2 separate regions of the Homo sapiens genome follow, and region 1 is linked to region 2. Evidence: promoter capture Hi-C in human tissues and cell types (Jung and others, 2019). All regions are on one chromosome and are shown on one strand. Each heading gives the region's core, a stretch centred on a gene start or on the middle of the fragment in contact. The rest is flanking DNA. Distances are from core to core; before and after follow the strand shown. Region 1 overlaps GREB1L (GREB1 like retinoic acid receptor coactivator). Region 2 holds the start of GREB1L (GREB1 like retinoic acid receptor coactivator).

Region 1 (5,302 bases), core at 2,579-5,078, 230 kb after region 2:
CTGTAATCCCAACACTTTGGGAGGCTGAGGCGGGTGGATCACTTGAGGTCAGGAGTTAGAGACCAGCCTGGCCAACATGGTGAAACCCCATCTCTGCTAAAAATATAAAAATTAGCTGGGCCTGGTAGTGCATGCCTGTAATCCCAGTACTTGGGAGGCTGAGGCAGGAGAATTGTTTGAACCCAGGCGCTGGAGGTTCCAGTGAGCCAAGATCACACCACTGCACTCCTGTCTGGGTGACAGAGTGAGACTTTGTCTCAAAAAAAAAAAAAAAAAAAGAAAGAAAAGAAAATGTGTTAAAGGTGATTCCAAAGCCCAGGGACCCTAATCTTTGCCATCTTCTTACTGGTAACTTTTTCCTACCCTTTTCTTGCTTCCTCGACTTCTCTCATCGATTTCATGTTGGTTTTATGTTAACTACATATATTAGTCCATTTTCATGGTGCTAATAAGGACATACCCGAGACTGGGAAAATTTACAAAAGAGGTTTCATTGGACTCACAGCTCCTCGTAGCTGGGGAAGCCTCACAATCATGGCATAAGGCAGGGAGGAGCAAGTCACATCTTACATGGATGGCGGCAGGCAAAGAGAGAATGAGGAAGATGTAAAAGCAGAAACCTCTGATAATATCATCAGATCTCGTGAGACTTACTGTCACAAGAACAACACGGGAAAGACCCGCCTCCATAATTCAGTCATCTCCCACTGGGTCCCTCCCACAACACGTGGGAATTATGGGAGCTACAAGATGAGATTTGGGTGGGGATACAGAGCCAAACCATATCTTTCTGCCCCTGGCCCCTCCCAAATCTCATATCTTCACATTTCAAAACCAATTATGCCTTCCCAACAGTCTCCCAAAGTCTCAACTCTTTTCAGCATTAACCCAAAAATCCAAGTCCAAAGTCTCATCTGAGACAAGGCAAGTCCCTTCTGCCTAGGAGCCTGTAAAATCAAAAGCAAGTTAGTTACTTCCTAGATAGAATGGGGGTACAGGCATTGGATAAATACAGCCATTACAAATGGGAGAAATTGGCTAAAACAAAGAGGCTACTGGCACCAGTAGGAACTCAGTGTGGTGGGTCTGACCCCACATTTCCCTTCCACACTGCCCTAGCAGAGGTTCTCCATGAGGGCCCCACCCCTGCAGCAAACTTTTGCCTGGGCATACAGGCATTTCCATACATCTGAAATCTAGGCAGAGGCTCCCAAACCTCAGTTGTTGACTTCTGTGTACCCACAGGCTCAACACCATGTGGAAGCTGCTTCCACCCTCTGAAGCAACAGCCCAAGCTGTACATTGGCCCCTTTAGTCATGGCTGGAGCAGCTAGGATGTGGGGCTCCAAGTCCCTAGGCTGCACACAGCACAGGGCCCACCCCAAAAAGCCACTTTTCCCTCCTGGCCCACAAAAATACTTTTTCCTCCTAGGCCTCTAGGTCTGTGGATGGGAGGGGCTGCCATGAAGACCTCTGACATGCCCTGGAGACATTTTCCCCCATTGTCTTGGGGATTAAGATTCCGCTCCTTGTTACTTATGCAAATTTCTCCAGCCAGAAACTCCCCCTTATGATACTATCAGATCTCATGAGACTTTCTTTATCACAAGACCAGCATGGGAAAGACCCATCCCCATAATTCAATCATCTCCCACCGGGTCCCTCCCACAACACATGGGAATTATGGGAGCTACAAGATAAGATTTGGGTGGGGAAACAGAGCCAAACCATATCACTGCACTCTGGATGAATTTAGAGATTCCTGAAAAAATTTTGTTTTAAGAGCTTTGTGGAACTCAGCTTCATTAGAGAAAGGACAGCAATAAGGAGGTTAAGATGAATGAGCTCCTGGAAGGGAGATGTGCTTCCCTCTCTGCCTCCACCCCACTTTTCCATTTGGCCTTGCTTCTTTTCCTTCCTCTCTCACTATTTCTCCTCTTCCTTGCCCTTCTCCCCTCTTGCCTTTAAAAGCAGTAGAGATGCCACTTTGATGACCTGAAAGCTTCCCCAGTTTCCCAGTTTAAACAAGAGAGTATCATATTTACTGGATGAACTTATTATTATTTTTGAGATAGAGTCTCACTCTGTCACCCAGGCTGGAGTGCAGTGATGCGATCTCGGCTCACTGCAACCCCCGCCTTCCGGGTTCAAGCAATTCTGTGCCTCAGCCTCCTGAGTAGCTGGGATTACAGACGCCCGCCACACGTCTGGCTAATTTTTGTATTTTTAGTAGAGATGGGGTTTCAACATCTTGGCCAGGCCAGCCTTGAACTCCTGACCTCGTGATCCACCCACCTTGGACTCCCAAAGTGCTGGGATTACAGGCGTGAGCCACCATGCCTGGCCTGGATGAACTTATTAATGAAAGAAAAGTTGGCAGGGTGCGGTGGCTCACACCTATAATCCCAGCACTTTGAGAAGCCAAGGTGGGTGGATTACTTGGGGACAAGAGTTCAAGACCAGCCTGGCCAACATGGTGAAACCCCATCTCTACCAAAAATACAAAAAAATTAGCTGGGCGTGGTGGCACATGCCTGTAATCCCAGCTACTAGGGAGGCTGAAGCAGGAGAATCACTTGAACCCAGGAGGCAGAGGTTGCAGTGAGCGGAGATTATGCCACTGCACTCCAGCCTGGGTGACACAGAGAGAGACTCCGTCTCAAAAAAAAAAAAAAAAAAAAAAAAAAAGAGTCAAATATGGATCCATATTTGCTCCCAGATCAAATTCTAGTAATTATCTGGTAGGGGGCATCTTTGCTCCTATGGATCAAAAAGCAAATCAGCAGGGGTCGGGGGTGGCAAATAGTCATCGTGTATTACATATCATGGTTTGTCCTCACCATGTAGTGGGGAGAGAAATTTCAGACATCATCAAGCATTTGTAGATGTTCTTTTCTCCAGGAGATGCTGAGGTTAGGAATCTGGAAGTTTTTGGTTTGTGGTAGGGAAATGTCAGAATTGCAAAGCTCTTTTTCAGAAGCCAGAAAGTGTTTGATAATACTCCACAATCTGAAACCTAGAGCCATACATAGGTATAAATAAGATCTTGTAGAACTTGTTAGATTTTGAAGAAAGGAAGGGAGGGAGAGAGAGAGAGAGCGGGAAAAGAAATTTTGCCCACATCTGTTTAGGTCTTGGTAGTCTTCTATGAGCAGGAATAGCTCATTGACCCTGTACACCTCATCTTTGAAAGTTTTGGGTGATATTTCTGAGGATACATGTTGGGACTTCTCTGAATTTAATTTTTTGTTGTTGTTGTTTTGGGGTTTTGTTTTTTTTTTAAACAGTCTAGCTGTGTTGCCCAGGCTGGAGCACAGTGGCGTGATTTCTGCTCACCGCCACCTCCTCCTCCTGGTTCAAGCAATTCTCCTGCCTTAGCCTCCCGAGTAGCTAGGATTACAGGCACACACCGCCACACCCAGCTAATTTTTTTTGTATTTTTTTTTTTTAATAGAGACGGGGTTTCACCATGTTGGCCAGGCTGGTCTTGAACTCCTGACCTCAGGTGGTCCATCTGCCTTGGCCTCCCAAAGTGCTGGGATTACAGACGTGAGCCACCATGCCTGGCCCAACTGCAGATTTAGATATCACTGGCCTAAATGACTGAGTTTGCACTTTGAGGTATATTGGGAATAAAGTGAAAAGGAAAAAAAATACATATTCCTGAAATCTGTCTGAAAAGAAGGAATGTAAATTTTTTTTCCTTTCCGTGTCAAATTTTAGTTGTTTCTTCTCTGCTCCCAATTGAAAAGAGATAGAAAAATAAAAACTAAAACAGTATGTCCATGTTAGTGTCTGATTCTATATCTACTTGGTTAAATGAGGTATTAATATGACTTTCAATTTTTCTACAGTGTCATTTCAGGCTCTTTGTCACATAGCGAACCCAGTCATGGGCTAGCTGATAGAGTCATTAATTGCAGAGAAGTTCTGGAAGCTTTCAACCTCCTGGTGCTCCAGGTCAGCTCCTTCCCATACACTCTGCAGACCCAACAGTCCCGCATTAGCTCTAGCAATGAGGTTCACTGGATACAGCTGGATACTGGGGTGAGTCTCTTGCCTGCTGTCTGATACACTGTCATGTTCTCAGTTCCCAAGAGGGTAGGACCTTGTAACAAAATGTGTCATGGCTTAAGACCATATTCATAAGAATTCAAAATCTAACGTAATGCTTTATGTAAGAGTTCAAAAATCTGGCTGGGTGCGGTGGCTCACACCTATAATTCCAGCACTTTGGGAGGCCGAGGCGGGTGGATCACAAGGTCAGGAGATCGAGACCATCCTGGCTAACACGGTGAAACCCCGTCTCTACTAAAAATACAAAAAATTAGCCGGGTGTGCTGGCACACGCCTGTAATCCCAGCTATTCAGGAGGCTGAGGCAGGAGAATCACTTAAACCCGGGAGGCGGAGGTTGCAGTGAGCGGAGATTGTGCCACTGCACTCCAGCCTGGGGGACAGAGCGAGACTCCGTCTCAAAAAAAAAAAAAACAAAAAACTAACATAATTCTGTATCTTCCAAAAGTTCCATATATTTTAACAATTATTATAAGACTAAAGGCTTGTGAATAATATCCTATATAAATTTGATTAGGTGGTTCTTAGGTATCATGCAGATACAAAATTATCTGTCGTATATAATTTTTCAAAAAGAAAATGTTGATGTTATCTGAGGCCATCATCAATATCCTGGATTTCCTTTGTGCCTTCATATGATTAATTTCACCCTGAGACCTGGACATTTTATTGTCCTCTTGGATGGCCTTTTTGTCATGTTTTAGTCTGATGATCTGCATCACTGTTAATTACTCTCTTGCTCCTCCAGCAACTGGGTTTTTGTTTTAAATCAGTTTTCACAGTCTTCTGTATGAAATGGGATGATGGCACTGTTACTTTAGATAACTCCATAGTAGCAGTGAATGTGTTGAGACTACCCATCTCAACATTGGATATATCCAGGGATTTATAGTTTTTACTCCAATCTCTAATATTGAAAAATATTTTCTATGACCTGAAACTGTATGCTAAATATACTATCAAAGAAAAGAAATGTGAGTTTCATAAAAATAATAAAAATTAGCCATTAAGCAATGGATCCCTCATTTAAAAATATTGAACACACTGGATATTTTAAAATAAACATGTTTAAGTAAAAAACACCAAAAATGTCTTACATAAAACTAACATTTATTTTTCAACCCAGTGCATTTTATTCTGTCATGAAGTAGGTAAGTTCTCTGACTTGGCGCTCTTGTCTTCAAGCATTGGTTTGTTCCTTGCAAGCAGGAAGCTCAGGTCCTTGA
Region 2 (4,841 bases), core at 1,677-4,176:
AGGTTGCAGTGAACCGAGTTCATGCCACTACACTCCAGCCTGGGCAACAAGAGCAAAACTCTGTCTCAAAAAAAAAAAAAAAAAAAAAAAAAAAAAAAAAAGTGTTTCAGGCACTAATGCATCTTCTTTTTTTTTTTTTCTTTTTGAGACATAGTCTCACTCTGTCACCAGGCTGGAGTCAGGATTCAAAACTATGGGACCTTTTTTCAGAATGTTCACTCTGAACCCTATCATCTTTTATAATTATGGAGGTCTACTGGGCATGCTGAGGGACATAGAAATCCCAAAGGGAAGACAAGGCAGAAACACAAATTCAGGACACAGGAGTGTGAAATCTTTTTTTTTTTTTTTGAGTCGGAATTTTGTTCTTGTTGCCCAGGCTGGGGGTGCAATGGCGCAATTTGGCTCACTCCAACCTCCGCCTCCAGGATTCAAGCGATTCTCCTGCCTCAGCCTCCCAAGTAGCTGAGAATACAGGTGTGTGCCACCAACACCTAGCTAATTTTGCATTTTTAGTAGAGATGGGGTTTCACCATGTTGGTCAGGCTGGTCTCGAACTCCTGACCTCAAGTGTTCCACCTGCCTTGGCCTCCAAAGGGCTGGGATTACAGGCGTGAGACACTGTACCCGGCTGGGAGTTTGTTATCTAATGAAGATGGCATTGAACTCTTTTCAATCTACCAGGATATATAGATTACTCTCACTTTTACCCTTGTTAGGGACTTGCCTTGTTTACTGACAAATCACCACTACTACTGATATATTGTGCCGTCTAACTCACATTAGGTGCTCAATATCTGTTGAATGGATGAAGAATGAATACCAGAGTCCTGTAATATTAGACTATGGTCCTTGAGTGACTGCCAGATTTGCTTTCACATTTCTAGGGTCTAGTGTACCTGGCACTCAACAAATGGTCCTTGCACTAAGAGAGAAAACTGCACTGGTGGTTTTACTTTAAAGCGGCTCCTTGTTCAGTGTCCTTATCTTTAAATTGGAAGGTGTTTTGCTTCTGCCCAACCCCCACACACTCTACAGACCTTGTGATGGGTTGAGTTTTTCAAAAGATTCTCACCTGCTTTAACTTCTATGAGCTTAGTTTATATTCACCAGGTGAACTTAAAATTTCAGTTTCTACAGCACTGTCTTTTCCACGTGTATGGCCAGTTCTCATGATGAGTTTACTAAGTGACTTTGGATTCTTTTAGCTATTGCTAATCATCTGCACCTTTCTGTTGTAGTTATTTTAAAGCCCGCCCGCGCGCGCGCGCGCACACACACACACACACACACACACACACACACTCTTGAGTCAGGGTCTCTGTCACCCAGGCTAAAAGCGCTGGGACTACAGACATGAGCCACCGCGTGGGGCCAAAAACATACGGATTTTATTTACTAAACCTGTATTGTGTGCATGACCCAGAATTGTGGGAGTACAGCAATGACTGAGAAAGCCGTGTTTCCCACCTTCGTGGCACATAACAATGTTTCTATGGGTTTTTAAAGGCCCAACAACAGGGATTCAATTATAAAATAAAAATATTTCGGTACAAAACATGATTTAAAAAAAGACAACTATGTCTTCCGAGTGGAGGAGGGAAAGGACAATCAAACCTCGAACAAATCGTTTATCTTGCTAGTCACAGCTTAGCTATGCCTTGTTATTTTCCGGTGATTCCAAACTTCCAGTCCATTCCCTCTGCATGGATCAAAAGTGACAGGAAAGAAAAAAATGTATTTCGGATATGGCAAAAAAGAAAAATGCAAGACAAGCAAACAAAAGTACTGGGACATCGTATGAGAACTAGTTTAATTGACAATGTCTTTAAATGGTACCTATCACTTGACAATGATTCCAACCCACCCGGGCCTGGGCGCCGCGGCTGCCTCCCCACTCCCACGCACACGGGGAGCTCCCCCGGGCTGTACTGCACTAAAGGCACTCAAAATACATCAGCCTTTCCTTACCTCGATTCTTCCACCACATCCAGCATGGAGCTGCTGCTTCCAGAGATGTAGTCGCCTATCTGTGGCAACAATTAGTTTTAAAAATGGAGCCGCATCTCTAATAACAAAAGCCTCCAGCTGTGAAAAGTGGAGCTAAATCTCTCTACCGGGCCGCAGCATCTCTCAAGAACCTTTTCCCCGCAGCACCCGTCAAGGCCCAGGGCCAGCTGGACGCGGCTGCCCTGGGGTGGAGCCGTCCCCGTGGTCCCGGGAGGCTACCGACGAGCCGGGGCCCGGGGCCGGAGGGCGTGCTCCTCCGGGAGGTGCAAAAGTCGGCTTGGGCCCGGAGCTCCCGGGTTTGTTTGGTTTTGTCCGCGCCCTGCCCCCACCCTACCCCCTTCATGCAAAAGGCCAAGGGTTTCCGAGCCACCACTGCCCAGGCCGAGTTCACGCTTGGGGCTCTTCAGCCGCCGTCCAGTGAACAGAGAAAGCAATTGCGCAGAGGCGAGAGCAGGCTGAATGAACGCGGGCTCCAGGGGAAATAATTTTTCCTCCTGGCTTCGCGCGTCAGCACACTGGGGTGCAGCCCTCCCTCACAGAAGACCCCCCCCCCGCACGACCCCCTGTACACCCCCGCGGGGCTGCGCGTTCGTCTGTGCGGCGGGGTTTGGGAATGGAGGCGTGAGGACCGCGCATCGAGGGCTCCACAGGCTGGGCGGGGGGCGTCGTTGGAGGGGGGTAGGGGAGAAATGCGCGCCCACCACCCTCACAGAGGGCGAGGGACCCCCAAAAGCCACTCGCGGACGCCGAGGCAGCGGGAAGGCGCGAGGCGGGGCGGGGGGAGGGGGCGCGGGGGTCCCCGCTGCGGAGGCCAGGGCGGGCGGGAGGGGCAGCACCTGAGGAATCCGCCTCCGGCTGCGGCGGCCGCCGCCTCGCTCCGCCCCGGGGAACTGAGCGCGCGGACCGCGCGCCTGCCAGAGAGACGCCAGCCGCCGGCGGCGCTAGCACCTCGGAGTCGGGCGGCCGGAGCAGCGGAGCGCAGCGCGGCGCAGGGAACGGCACTGGGGGTGGGGAGACCAGCCCGGCCGAGCCGAGGGCCACCCCCTGGTCCTCTGCCCTCGCGCCCCGCTAGGGCCAGGTGAGCGGCCGCGGGGACTCCGGGGCGCGGGCAGGAGGTGAGAGGTCGCGAACCGGGCGCGGGAGCTCGCCTGTGACCGGCAGGAGCTGCCCTTTGGCGGGCTGGACGCCCTGGCCGCGCGGGGAAGCGCCGCAGCGGACTTTTCCGGAGGGATGGGAAGCTCAGCGGGGGTGTGAGCGGAGCGCGTGCGGGTGGCGAGGGAGCGCCAGTGCCAACCTGGGAGCCGTGCCTGCCTTCCCTGCCGCCTCGCGTCGCCCACCGAAGGGACCCGGCCGTGCTGTCCGCGCCCAGAGGCCGAAGGCCTGTCACCGGGCTCTACTCGCTGCCTTTGTGGCGGGAGCGAGACGGCCCGGGGGTGGGACGAGGGAGCTGCGGCGCGCCGAGTAGCGCGGGGTCCCCCGGCGGAGGCGGCGAGGGGGCACCTGGTTCGTCTCCCCGAGCCCAGGGGCAGTGAGGGGGTGCCGGGCAGGCGGGCGGGCGACAGGTAGGGCGCCGCGGAGGTGGCGGGGAGAGGATGGATGGAGTTCAGCCTGGGAAAGTTGAGAACGTCCAGAGGTGGCTGGGCGCTCGCTCGGCGTCTGTGGGTTTTTTTCCTCAACACCAAATGTCACTTCGTCACGAGCGGGCGCGCGTGTCTTCCGGCCAGCATGTCCATTTTTCTGTGCATGGCTGAGGACCACTCTTATTCCGAATGAGACACAAAGAGTTGTGTTGACAGCTGACCCTGACACAAGCAGACAGCGAGTGAGGTGCGCCCTGGCCGGGGAGGGTGAGGGAGACTCGTTAAAGGAAATCCATTCCCGCCGTCCCTCTTCCCAGCTCCATTAAGAGGAAACTCCATGTGGAGATTCAGTGCGTGGGGTTTCTCAGTTACATGAGTCCAAGGAACGTCCCCGAACGCGACTCGTTTGCCCGGAACTGCCGCTGCCTCTAACCGAGGCTGCGGGTCCTGGAGAAACTCCTCAGTCTTGCCCCTTTCTCCGGTGAACGTGACGGTTCCAAGGTCCTTATCCTCCCCACCCACTCCTCTGGCCCCGGCTGAGAGGATAGAAACCACATTTTAATTTCTGCTTTTCACACCGTAAGGTGTTTTTTTCCGCCTCCCCCCGCCTCGAGGCGGGAATCCCTGCTTAAATCACATTTTTAAACCTAGCCGTTTAAATACAGGGAAGAGCTTTCCCACAAAAGGTTTTTGAACTCAGTCCCCCTTAATAAAACCTCTCATTCATCTATATATGTTCTTAGACTTTAAATCCTGGAACTCTGCTTTGAGTGTTGTGACTGTGTTGTTTCTTCTCTTTGCTGAAATTTTCTAGGAGGTTTTGTGAATGATACTGAAAAATTATTTAAAAGAGAAAAAATTAAATTGTTGAAATATTTAGTAATACAGTTACATGCATATAGGTATGTATTTCAAGAGGAAAATGTTTAATGAATGAATATATAAGTAGGGTAAACATTTCAAACAACAGTGAAGAGTATACAGTGTAAATTAAGCCCTCTTTCCTCTCCTCCATACAAGCCTTCATCCTTCTCAGAGGCAGCCACTGTTGTATATTTTTTGTATATCTTTCCGTAAGTCTATTAAAATGGAATTACATTATAGATGATGAAAGGGATTGAATATAAGACTGAACTATATATTCGTGGTGATGACCATTAACTTGATACCCACTCATGATGACATGAGATTATTTAGCCAAATGTGGACAATTATTACCTTGAAGATCAGTTAGAGGGCTAAAAATCTTAG

What was found. Contacts are between HindIII fragments. The study calls those that stand out against the background at their distance.
Region 1: a fragment that was not itself captured here is called in contact with the fragment with the promoter of GREB1L in region 2 in 1 of the 25 tissues and cell types used here (dorsolateral prefrontal cortex).

What each region holds. Positions count from the first base shown.
Region 1 is chr18:21,473,310-21,478,611 of GRCh38, forward strand. GREB1L (GREB1 like retinoic acid receptor coactivator) reads left to right here. Exons shown (of 33, transcript NM_001142966.3): 17 at 3,855-4,047. Among named protein-coding and RNA genes, the nearest start is that of GREB1L-AS1, 25 kb to the left of the region's middle. The HindIII fragment of the contact is 6,289 bases long and covers 685-5,302 here.
Region 2 is chr18:21,239,306-21,244,146 of GRCh38, forward strand. It overlaps GREB1L (GREB1 like retinoic acid receptor coactivator), which reads left to right and starts at 2,927. Exons shown (of 33, transcript NM_001142966.3): 1 at 2,927-3,088. GREB1L-DT (GREB1L divergent transcript) reads right to left here and starts at 3,423. Exons shown (of 3, transcript NR_183513.1): 1 at 3,305-3,423; 2 at 1,972-2,030; 3 at 1,370-1,702. The HindIII fragment of the contact is 24,686 bases long and covers 1-4,841 here.